Regions from separate parts of the Homo sapiens genome. Here all the other regions are linked to region 2. The links are contacts of gene promoters, found by promoter capture Hi-C in blood cells and fetal thymus (Javierre and others, 2016). All regions are on one chromosome and are shown on one strand. The core of a region is centred on a gene start or on the middle of the fragment in contact, and the rest is flanking DNA. Distances in the headings are between cores, read along the strand shown.

Region 1 (3,987 bases), core at 1-2,500, 240 kb before region 2:
ACACACCAGTCTCCACTCCCATTGAGGAGGCACCACTCTGTGCTCAGTTTCCTTCATGCAGGAGAGCCGGTGTGGGGGTGACAGAAGAGGGGAGGGGCTGAGAGTTTCACCACAGCAGGCAGGAGATTGCTATGAAAGAGGCTAGTGTGCAGTATCAGAATGTCCTGGGCACTAGCTCCACCTGGAAGAAGTAGCTCTGAATGGGGAGGCCGCAGGTCTCAGCAAGGAAGGTGAGTATGTGACCAAGTGGTCAACAGGCAGAGCCAAGCTCTTCCTCAGGGGGCTGGGCGGTGGACACCCACCCACTTTGTGTTTGTTGATGGACTAAAAGTATTCCCTCAGAGTCATGAAATACTCACAAATGCTCACGGAGTTGGTATATTCTCCGGACATCCTGCAAGAGAGAAAAGCACAGGAGAGTCTGAATCACGTGGACTCCCATAGTGGCCCTCACTGCCTAAACACAGGCTGGGGATCCCCAGCCAGACCAGCTCAGCCTTCACGCACCCCACACTTGCCAGATGGCACTGGCTGCCCTTGCATGTCTCTAAGCCCTCCCTCTCGCTCCTCAATCTACTCTTCCCACTGCAGAGATGTGGAACCTGCAACTTTGGAACCCCCAACAACATTACCACCCCCAAGGTCCCTCCTGCAGGGTTTCTCTTGAACCCATTTCTTTACTACTGTGAGCAGCTGTCTGAATAAATACATATGTGGAAAGATCAGGATCAGGAGTTGCTACTAATGAACGAACTGTATGATTTTGGGGCAAGTGACTTCTCTCCAGGTCTCAGTTATAAAATGGTGCTTGGTTAGAACAGGGTTTTTCAAATGTTCATGCTTCGTGTGCCACCCTTCTGACTGTTGCTAGGACCATGTTTGACTTGTACTGTTAGATATTTAGTATTTTTAATTGACTCTGCCTTTTACGACAAAAGTGCATTTCTTTTAAAAAGAAGTTTTTTATCACCAGGGTAAATAGAAACCAGTATTATTACCTAACCAAATAAGAAAAAAAGTAGCAGTAAAAATAAATATAATGAAAAGAAAACAATTTAAAACTTTTGGGCTAAATAATGCTATTATTTTCCCAGAGATGCTGCACCTGAGATCTACTGTCTCTTTATCAATAGGGGATATTTGTAAGTGTCTGAGAGGTGTTTTTGTGTTTTGTCTGTTTGTTTGTTTGTTTGTTTGTTTGTTTTTGAGATGGAGTCTCATTCTGTCACCCAAGCTGGAGGACAGTAGCAGGATCTCAGCTCACTGCAACCTCAGCCTCCTGGGTTCAAGCGATTCTCCTGACTCAGCCTCCCAAGTAGCTAAGATTACAGGCATGCACCACCACATCCAGCTAACTTTTGTATTTTTAGTAGAGACGAGGTTTCTCCAATGTTGGCCAGGCTGGTCTCAAACTCCTGACCTCAGGTGATCCACCCGCCTCAGCCTCCCAAAGTGCTGGGATTACAGGCACGAACCACTGCGCCTGGCCATCTGAGAGGTGTTAAAGACACAACAGCACCCAGCTAAGACTTTCTCCAAAGAGTCAAAAGAGAACTGTAAAGGAAATTGCTGTCACATTATCTGGCAGGATGCTGTTTGAAACTATGCTTGTGGGTGAAGTAAACACATCGCCAGCTCGCCGCCCCCTCCCCCCCGCCCCCAACCACACTCTGGGAAACTTTAAGGTGGAGACTTGCAGTTTCTTCCAGTCCCTCGGTCCCACCCACCTGCACTCCTCGCCCTCCAGCAGCTTGCGGTAGGTGGCGATCTCAATATCCAGGGACAGCTTCACGCTCAAAAGCTCTTGGTACTCGCGCAGCATCCGTGCCAGCTCCTCCTTGGCCTGCTGCAGGGCGCCCTCCAGCTCATCCAGCTTGGCCCTGGCATCCTTGAGGGCACAGTCCCCCCGCTGCTCGGCGTCAGCGATGGCCGTCTCCAGGTTGGCACACTGGGGTCAGGAGGTAGCATTTCTCCCTGAGTTCCTCCCTGGGCCTCGCTTCACCTCTCCCATGCTCTCAATGGTTGAGCCCTCCTCTGTCCTGCCCCATGTCCTGGAGCAGAGACCCAGCCACATCCAGGTGGAGTCCTGTCAACCTGAGACTGAGAGGCTTGCTACGCTGGGCCCCACAGCTTTATGAAAATAATCTGCAATTGTTCCAAACTTCAGATGGGAGCTAAGGGTGAGGGATGAGAGCAGGACCTCCATTTGAAGAAGGGGATTCTGAAATGGATGCTCAAGAGAAGGAGGGGGCAGGGGGTGCTAAGCAGTTCACCCCTCCCTTAGGAGTGAGTAAGGAAGGCTCCAGTCCCCTTCACCTGCTTCTTCACACTCTCAATCTCCGAGCGCAGTCTTTGGATGAGACGGGTCAGCTCTGAGATCTCATTTTTGGTGTGTTTCAGGTCATCCCCATGCCGGCCGGCTGCTAGCTGCAGCTCCTGGAACTAGAGGAAAAGGAACCAAAGCAAGAACACTGACTCAGGGCTTGGCTGGGATCAGCCTGGTACAGAGACTGTGCCTGCACTTGCAGAGCCTGGCAGAGGTGGGTCCAGGTCCCCCGCCTCACCATGTCTATCAGCAGCCTCCCATTAAAGCATTGGGCCATTGCATTTGCTTGCCTTAAGCACAGCTGATCTCATGGATGGTTAGAATTGGCCATAAGGACTGTTGAATGTCCCAGACTCTCCATATGGCAACTTTATAACACACTACTCCAATTATGACGTTCCTCTGCCTATCGTCCTTCAAAGTCAAGGTCAAATTCAAACTCTTACATGGCATCCAGGGGCTCATTTCTTTCTGCCCTTGCCTAACACCTATCTGACTCCCAAGCTCGGCCAAACAGTCCCACACTTCCCCCAGATGTCCCACGTGTTCTTTTGTCTCTGAGTCTTTGCCTGAGCCTCTCCTCTGACCTGAAAAACCCTCCCCCATCCATCCTCCTTTTTCCCTAGCTAGCTCCAACTTAACCAGTGCAGAGTCCCTTCCTCCATGAGGCCTTCCGTGATGCCCTGGTTGGGTGCAATTCTATTCCGTTGCCACTGGCACACCAGTCCATAGGTCTCCCCACACTGTAGTGTATTGTGAACCTGTTTCCATGTGTTCTCCATCCGACCCAGAATGAATGGATGACAGAGACTTTTTCTTTTAACTTTGAATTCCCAGTACCTAGCATAGTGCCTAGTTGGTGCTCAAAAAAAGTCTGATGAATGAATGAGTGAGCCAATGAGCTGTCCATCTGTATTTTCTGTGACTCCCTCCCTTTGATACCTTAGCTGGGCCCCAGCCCACAGGCAGCTTTCCAGGGCTGGGATGGAGGGAGGGATTAGCATGGAGGAACATTTTGTGTGCATGATGGGGGTGGATTCAGCTATACCCCAAAACCACTAGCCATGAATTTTAGGTCATCTACTAATTCGGGATTATTTCTGTCTTTGTTGTCATCTATTAAACAGTCACAGAGAGTACATCAGTTCTACTCAGAATGTGGCTCAAGGGGAAAACAAAACAGGGACCCTTCAGCACTCTGGTGTACTGCTCTGTCTCTGTCACTGGGTGCTCCACCCCAGCATGGCCCAAGATTTAGGATTGTTCCTAAAGATGTCAAGTTATCCAGAAAGCAGAGAAGGCAGAAGGGCTTCTCTCTTCACTCCTTGTATTTTATCTTTGGTGCCAACCCTAAACAAGGGGCCTTCTCCTGCTTCTCCGCAAGGCTGTGTGAGCAGGATGCCTCCCCGTACACTGGTTCTGACACCAAGCAGCTTCATTCTGAGGCAAACAGATGAACATCTTCCTGCCACTCCTCTGTCAAGCCACACAAAGCCCTTAGAGTAAATGCTTCTTTCCCAGAGTCACCTTCTGATTTTCTGCCTAAATGCAGTGGAATTTGAAGTCAGTCACCTAGATTCTGATCCAGCTGCGTCACTTGTCAGCTATTGCCTTTGGTAAGTAGCTTGAACTCCCTGGGCCCTACGTTCTTTATCTTTAAA
Region 2 (3,909 bases), core at 1,410-3,909:
TTTGGGGTCCCTACTCTGGCTCAGGAATTCTGTTCATGCACTGCTCAACACCCATCCACCATGCCTCCCAAGACCCCCTCCTTCCTCCTCCAGCCCCACTCTGTCCTGCTCTCTCCTTTGCCCAACATTGACCCAACATCACCTTCAGGAAGTCTTCCCTGATTAATCACAACCAGTTCTGCTTCTTCCTCTCCCTCCCCGCCCTCTCCTGCAGTGACATCAAGAGCTCGTCAAGCAGTCCTTTAGTCAGATCTTGCCTTGGGGCCCCTGTGTCTAGGCAGATGTCCCATTTTCCCAGGGGACCCCTGCAGGTAGAGTGATAGCCTGTCCTAAATCAGGACCTCCCACCTTTTCCCTCCCAGCCTAGGACTAGGCTCCGTGCACAGTGGATGCTCAGAACGTAAGTGGAGCACTGGCCCCCACCCTCACCTTCTTGAGGACCACAAAGTCGTTCTCAAGTGTGGCACGCCTGTGGGCCTCCTCCTCATACCTGCCAAATAAGTAGAGAAGGATGCAGTTTGAGGCTCCACGGTCAGAGCTCATGCCCCCATGTCCGAGCATGACCTCCCTGAAAAGGACTCCTTGCCTTAGAATGCCCCCAAACAAGACAATAACCAGCCCTTCTCTCCTTTCCTGCCACGTCCTAGCTATGTACCTGTGCCACCCTTTCAGCCCATGTCCTTTTGATGACGACAGCCACATTGTTTCAGTTTATAAGGCACATTCGAATACCTTTTCCCACTTGCTACTCACACCCATCACTTGAGGTAGGCAGTTTGGGTTTTATCAGAGAGATTAGATGATTTGACCAAGACCCCACAGATGACTAGGTAGACAAAGCAGAGCCAGCCCAGGTCTTCTGACCCCAATCCAGGGCTCCTTCCAGAACCTTCCTTCCTCCACCTCACATCCCATTATCCCAATAGCCCTGGGAGGCCAGAAGGGCAGGTGACATTTCCCAAGTTTACAGAAGGGAAACCAAGTCCGGGAGAGATGAGATGCCTTGCCCAGGATGCACAGCTACCCCTCACTCACAGTTGCCCCAACCCAAGCCCCCTATTAGTCCAGGGCTCTCTCCACTCCACCAGGTGACCTAGGCGTGGAGCCCAGAACCACAGCCCATCTGTGAATTGTGTCACAGGCCTGGGGACAGCCCCACTAAATTGATTCCCTTCCCTCTTTGGAACCAGAGAACATCTGAATCACTTTAGCCCACAGCCCGCTGAACAGGAATTTCTCAAGAATAAAAAAAGCCACTGGGGCATTGTTTAAATAAGCCCTTCCCAGCCTTGACCGGAAACATGGGCCCTTGTAGCTGGGGCATGTAGGACACCGGTCTCCCTGCCTTTCCTCCAAGGTTCTCCAGATCTGCTTGGGGACTGCGGGACACCTCGTTTACCTGTAGCAGGTGGGCACCTGAGAGCCTGGGGAATGGGGACGCGGAGGGGTAGAGGGGAGGCCAGTCATGTGCCTCTGGGTGCTCAGTATGTGGGACACCTCCTGGCTGACAGACCCAAACTGAGTCATCCCAGACCCCGCCCACATGGCATGGGGAAATTTCAGTGTGCCTACTTGGACTTATACTCCTCCTCCTGGTCCCGGCAGGCCTTCAACTCAGCATCCAGAGCCCCTCGTTCTCCCTGGAGCTGCTCCAGCTGCTTCCTGAGCTGATCCAGGCAGGCCTCAAAGACAGGCTCCAGGCCCTGCTGGCTGCCACTCAACCCCTGTTGCTGCAGCAGATGCCACTTCGTCTCCAGGACCTTGTTCTGCTGCTCCAGGAACCGCACCTGCAGCAAAAGCAGAGGATCCCTGAGGCTCCTGTGGGACTCCCTGTGCACAGCCTCTGGAAAGTAAAGCCTGAGGGACCCTCCCATCAGCCTCACCTTTCCCCTGTCCCCCTGCCCAACCTGGGCAGGGGAAGCCTCATGACCTTCCATGACACTCTGAACACAACAAAATGACTGGACTGACTAATGGGGCAGGGCCTTCCCCCCGCTGGCTGGCAGTTCTCTGTCCCTGAGCCCCAATCATGGAACAACAGGGCCTCAGCATAGCCAGAGAGAGTCCAGTTAGTCCACAGGAGGGACTTCTTTGCTGCAGAAGTTATTAGAAAAGTGGTAGAAGGAGGCCAAACTTCCCATTTCCAAGTCCATCAAGAGCAGCTCCTCCAAGGGAGGCACAGAGACAGGGGCTTGGCTGAGTTGACCCTCACCTTGTCAATGAAGGAAGCAAACTGGTTGTTGAGGGTTCTGATCTCCTGGGTCTCCTGCGTCCGCACCACCTGGAACTGGGGATCGATCTCAATCTTCAGTGGGGTCAGCAGATTCTGGTTGATGGTCACTTCTTGGATGCCCCCCGGAGGGCACAGGGAGAGCCCAGGCCCACCACTCCACTCCCCAAACCGCACCCCCAGCCTACCCCCTGACCCCCAGGTACTCCCACGAGAGCCTTCCAGGCACCCCCCAAAGGAATTAAGGCTCCTGCTGCTGAAGCCGCCCCTGCTGCTGAAGCCTCCCCTGCTGCGGCCCCTTGAGCGAGCAGAACAGGCTGAGCGAGCGCTGAAGCCCCTCTGGGCCCGGCATGGGGAGAGAGACATGGCAGAGACAGACAGTCACGCAGCTGCAGACGGACAGACAGATTGTCAAGGTGTGTGAGTTTCTGCCCTGGGGCCCCAGCACGAGACTTTTATCCACTCCCGTACCTGGGCTGGGCCTTGGAGAGCAAGATACTCTTGACCTGACTGTGTCTGTCACTTGGCTCCAGCTGACTTACTCTGACGTGCCTGGAGAATAAGTGTCCGGCACGTGCAGAGCCAAGGGAGAAGGAAACCCAGACCCTGCCCTCAGAGCTCCCAGGCTGTTGGAGAAATAGGCATGCCCAAAGACAAGGAAGCAGGCAGGAGACTGGGATGTCAGTGCTGAGGGACAGGGAGGGATGGCCGGAGCAAAGTCACTGAGGCCCTCAGGGAAGGCTTCCTGAAGGAGACAGGGAAGCGAGAGGAGGTTGAAGAGGAAAGAACGCTAGAAGGGGTTCAGAGGAAGCATCAGAGTGCCCTGGATTCTCAAGGGAGAATCTGCCTCAAGGAGTTGGAGAAGGAAGGCACTTGCAGCGCCACAAAGAGAGGAGGTTAGTGGAGGTGTTATTGCCATAGTTGGCTAAAAGACACTCCAGGATTTGGAAATGAAACAGAAAAACAGGGTTTCCAAGTCCTTCCTCTTGCCCAACCCAGCAATCATCCATGAGGCACCACCCACTGAAATCAGGCATCTCCATCCAGGATCGCATGGGACAGCACGTTTCTGACCCAGCCTGTGGCTCTGCTCCTTCCACAAGCACTTGGGGCCAGGCCCATCCACCTGCCATCAGGCTCCGCTTCCTGAGGTTACAAATCAGAGCCACCCAGGCTCTGAAATGAAATGTGCATTTAGGGCCGGGCACAGTGGCTCACGCCTGTAATCCCAGCACTTTGGAAGACCGAGGTGGGTGGGTCACTGGAGGTCAGGAGTTTGAGACCAGCCTGACCAACATGGTGAAACCCCATCTCTACTAAAAATACAAAAATTGGCCAGGTGTGATGGTGCACACCTGTAATCCCAGCTACATATGAGGCTGAGGCAGGAGAATTGCTTGAACCCAGGAGGCAGAGGTTGAGCAGTGAGCCAAGATCGTACCACTGCACTCCAGCCTGGGCAACAGAGTGAGACTCCATCTCAAAAAAAAAAGCAAGGTGCATTTAGAAAATACTCCTAAGCTGGGAACGGTGGCTCACGCTTGTAATCCCAGCACTTTGGGAGGCCTAGGCGGGTGGATCACGAAGTCAGGAGATCGAGACCATCCTGGCTAACACGGTAAAACCCCGTCTCTTAAAAATACAAAAAATTAGCCAGGCGTGGTGGCAGGCACCTGTAA
Region 3 (4,209 bases), core at 1,287-3,786, 140 kb before region 2:
CACGTCCCAGACAGCATCCTGGGGAAAAGCTCATTCAGTGAGCATCAGTGTCCGCCAACAAAAAAATGTGCGTTTTCCCTCTGGACTCAAATAGCTGTGGCTTTCATCCAAAATGTAATAATAATTTTTTTAACTTGGGGAAAAACTCTCCAGCCTTAGAAAAATGGCTAAGCGATGGCTTGCCCAATTGGATACAATTATTTTAAATCATCTTGTTGGAGACTCTGCAGCAGAACCGGCAACCACTTGTGATACTATGTACCATATTAAAGGGAAAGGGCAGACTACATGATGGAGTCTGCGCTGTGAACTCATAAGAATTAAGAATGCAGAAGGCCGGGTGCAATAGCTCACTCCTGTAATCCCAGCACTGTGGGAGGCCAAGGCAAGCAGATCACTTGAGCCCAGGAGTTCAAAACCAGCCTGGCCAATATGGCGAAACCCCATCTCTACTGAAAATACAAAAAATTAACCAGGTGTGGTAGCACACTCCTGTAGTCCCAGCTCCCACGGGTCAGGGGGGCTGAGGTAGGAGGATCACTTGAGCCTGGGAGGTCAAGGCTGCAGTGAGCCCTTATCGTGCCACTGCACTCCAGCCTGGGCAAGAGAATGAGACCCTCTCTCAAAAAAAAAAAAAAAAATGCAGATAAGACAGACTTTGTGAGTAACTAGAAAGTGAGTTGATTTATTTAGAGACTGTGGGAGGAGTTTTCCTAGGTTCTTTTGTTTGTTTGCTTATTTTTTTGAGACAGAGTCTTGCACTGTTGCCCTGGCTGGAGTGCAGTGGCACAATCTTGGCTCGCTGCAACCTCTGCCTCCTGGGTTCAAGCGATTCTCCTGTCTCAGCCTCCTGAGTAACTGGGATTGCAGGTGCCTACCACCACGCCTGGCTAATTTTTTGTATTTTTAATAAAGACAGGGTTTCACCATATTGGCCAGCCTGGTCTAGAACTCCTGACCTCAGGTGATCCACCTGCCTCAGCCTCCCAAAGTGCTGGGATTACAGGCGTGAGCTACTGTGCCCGGCTGAATTTTCCTGGTGTTTTAAATGTCCTTTTTCTTTATGTTCATTGCAATAAATATTTTTTGCTCACGCCTTTAATCCCAGCACTTTTGGAAGCCAAGGCAGGCGGATCACCTGAGGTTAGGAGTTCGAGACCAGCCTGACCAACATGGAGAATGCCATCTCTACTAAAAATACAAAAAATTAGCCGGGCATGGTGGCACATCTGTAATCCCAGCCACTTGGGAGGCTGAGGCAGTAGAATCACTTGAACCCAAGAGGCAGAGGTTGTGGTGAGCCGAGATTGCACCATTGCACTCTAGCCTGGGCAACAAGAGTGAAACTCCACCTCAAAAAAAAAAAGAAAGTTGTGGCAGAAATCCCAATAGAGGTGGGGAAGAACAGGTGGTAGAAACAAGAGCACTGTGGGGGCGCCGCAGTGAAAAGTCATCCTGGTACAGGGAAATGCTCCAAGGGCAATTCCAAGCTTCCACACCCTCTTCTCATGAACCTCTGCATTCCGTACATGGTATCTGTTCAGTGGGTCATCCAGGAGACACTGTGTGATAGAGGAGACAATGAGCCTGAAATTTATAGGCAGAAGCTCTGCTGCTTGCTGGTTGTGTCTAGAGCCTCAGACACTTAAGGAACCTAGAGCCTCTCAGACACTTAAGGAACCAAAGTGTCTATTTCTCAAGGATTCAAAGCTATATATAAGTCATGTGGGGAGAAAAAAGCAGAGCACTGGAATCACTAAACAAGCAGAAATAGCTGCTCACAGATCCTGGTGGGATGACAGCTGTCCTGCTTTGCCTAGGATTTTCAGTACTTAAACCAAGATATACCTGGGCAAATCAGAACAGTTGGTCACCCTAGTCCTAGGCACCTATGGTCCACACAGCCATACTCCTAACCCTAAGGTAAGAGAGGGAAGCCAGGGCCTAGCCTCCAGCACAGAGTGACAAGGAGAGAACCAGTAGAAGCAGAGGAAGGAAAGAGAGGTGAAGCTAGGGAAAGGGGTGGGTTCATGTGAGAAAGCTGCCTGAAGACCAGGATTCTGAGTCAGATATCAGAGGAGAGGCAGAAAGAACAGAGCAGGGGGAAGAAGTAGGGGTCTGGCTGAGAAAATGGGGGCTGATAGGAGAAGGGACAGTAAGTACCAGACAGGAAACAGCAGTGGTGTGGCGAACAGATCCTTGAGTTGGGCATCTTGAAACCCAGCTCTGACTCCTGGCTCCGCCCCCTCCTAGCCCCATGGCTGGGACACTTGACTCCTTGAACCTCAGTTTCCTGACCTCTAAAATAAAGAAAATAGTAACCAGGCGGGCACAGTGGCTCACACCTGTAATCCCAGCACTTTTGGAGGCAGAGGTGGGTGGCTCACCTGAGGTCAGGAGTTTTGAGACCAGCCTGGCCAACATAGTGAAACCTCGTCTCTACTAAAAACACAAAAATATATAATCCCAGCTACTTCGGAGGCTGAGGCAGGAGAATCGCTTGAACCTGGGAGGTAGGGGTTGCAGTGAGCCGAGATGGCGCCACTGTGCTCCAGCCTGGGCAACAGAGGGAGACTCTGTCTCAAAATATATATATATATAAAATAACAGCTTTGTAGAGTGATAGTAATGAATGGCTATGAACAAATATGGAAGAGCACTTTGCAAGCCCCAAGGAGTCACACAAGTGAGGTTCTGTTCCCCAACCCCTCCCTGTGAACCCACCTCTCTCTCCGGCTGCACCACTCACTTTCAACCCCACCTCCTCCTCATGAAGAATACACATAATTAACCCCTTCGCATCTGTCTCTACTGCCACCTAAACAAACAGGAAGCTCCTTGCTGTTGGGACAAGACTTCATGGACCAGGAGCCCCTTTCTTCCTGCAACTGCTGGGCAGAGTGGGCCAATAACAAAGGCCTTCATGACTGAGCTAAAGTAAAGAGACGTGGACAGCTTAGAGAACCAAGAGCTTGGGCCCCACAATTAAGTGCCCCTGGAGTTAAAGCCCAGCTCCCCCCATGTACCAGTTTTATGATTGAACTAATCACTGAGTTCCCTGAACGCTATTCATCTGACCCTTAAATAGAGCACTTGAAGACAACAAATATTTTAAAAGGCTTGCTCTTACGAGAGGTGTTATTGTGTGGCTGTGGCTACAGCATTGAGACCTATGAATGCGATGAGAGTTTTTAGAAAGACAGGCAGCTGGAAAAGGCTTCACAGAAGCAAAGGCAAGCTCAAGCTAACCTCGAAGGATGTACTGTAGGCCAGTGAGAGGGTGCTCTGTTGTAGGGACTGGGACTGGGAAGGACCAGAGAAACTGCTCGTGCCAAGGCCTAGAGAAAGGAACGGGCATGTGAGGGGGTGGGATGGGGGAGCCATGAAGAGGCCCCCTTGCCTCGAGGGAGCAACTGGGAAACCCTGAGGCCTGAGTTTGGCTTCGGTCACAGAGGGCTCCAGCAATGTCTTTGAGTGGAATTTGTTCAGCACTCGCCCAGGTTTCTATATACTGTCATGCTGAATGTGAAAATATTCCATTGTGATAACATAAAAAAGGAAGTCCCGGACAGCAGAGTTTAGGAAGCTTCTTTGATCTCTGTCTATGATCAGCTTTCAGCATTCAATGCCAACATTGTCATCTACCTCCCGTCAGCTGATGGCCCCTGCTGGGCTGTTGTCATCCCTTGAAGGGCTTGGGAGGGGAGGAGGGACACACCCACTAACTGAGCTTTTGGTGGAGGGTGATAGCTATGCTCTACTTCCTCAGAAGAAAAAAAAATGACTTAAAGTGAAGCACGAGAGATTTTGCTTGTCTCAAAGGAAGTGTTTCAACTCAGATCAATATTAGTGGGTAAATAATGTTCCTAGGACGAATCACTACCCCTAAAAGAAACTCCTCAGCTGGTTAGACTGCAGAGAGCAGCGGTTTCTAAACTGGCTCACACTGGAATCACCTAGAAAGCTTCAAAATCGCTGGTGCCTGGGCCCACACCTAAGGAGTAGAGTTTAATTGGTCTGGGGCTATGGTCTGGACTTTAGAATTTTTAAAAGGTGGTTTTAATGTGCAGCAAGTTTGGAGACCACTGACCTGGAGGAAACAGGACAAATGAAACAGCCTCTTTAGATTCCATTCAGTCTAAGGACACAGATAGGAGTAACAATCATTATCATAATAGTGAACTTCACCAGGTGATTTCCATGGACCAT

What was found. Contacts are between HindIII fragments. The CHiCAGO score rates a contact against its expected background, and 5 or more counts as called.
Region 1: a fragment that was not itself captured here is called in contact with the fragment with the promoter of KRT78 in region 2 in 2 of 17 cell types (naive CD4 T cells and erythroblasts); the score reaches 6.6 in naive CD4 T cells.
Region 3: a contact is called between a fragment that was not itself captured here and the fragment with the promoter of KRT78 in region 2, in 1 of 17 cell types (naive CD4 T cells). The highest score is 5.0, in naive CD4 T cells.

What each region holds. Positions count from the first base shown.
Region 1 is chr12:52,608,888-52,612,874 of GRCh38, forward strand. KRT73 (keratin 73) reads right to left here. Exons shown (of 9, transcript NM_175068.3): 6 at 2,317-2,442; 7 at 1,728-1,948; 8 at 360-394. It overlaps KRT73-AS1 (KRT73 antisense RNA 1), which reads left to right and starts at 964. Exons shown (of 3, transcript NR_126005.1): 1 at 964-2,540; 2 at 3,454-3,942. The HindIII fragment of the contact is 7,675 bases long and covers 1-3,987 here.
Region 2 is chr12:52,846,335-52,850,243 of GRCh38, forward strand. It overlaps KRT78 (keratin 78), which reads right to left and starts at 2,660. Exons shown (of 9, transcript NM_173352.4): 1 at 2,213-2,660; 2 at 1,573-1,787; 3 at 430-490. The coding sequence starts at 2,596. The HindIII fragment of the contact is 13,226 bases long and covers 1-3,909 here.
Region 3 is chr12:52,704,540-52,708,748 of GRCh38, forward strand. No RefSeq gene overlaps it. Among named protein-coding and RNA genes, the nearest start is that of KRT77, 3.1 kb to the left of the region's middle. The HindIII fragment of the contact is 2,096 bases long and covers 1,489-3,584 here.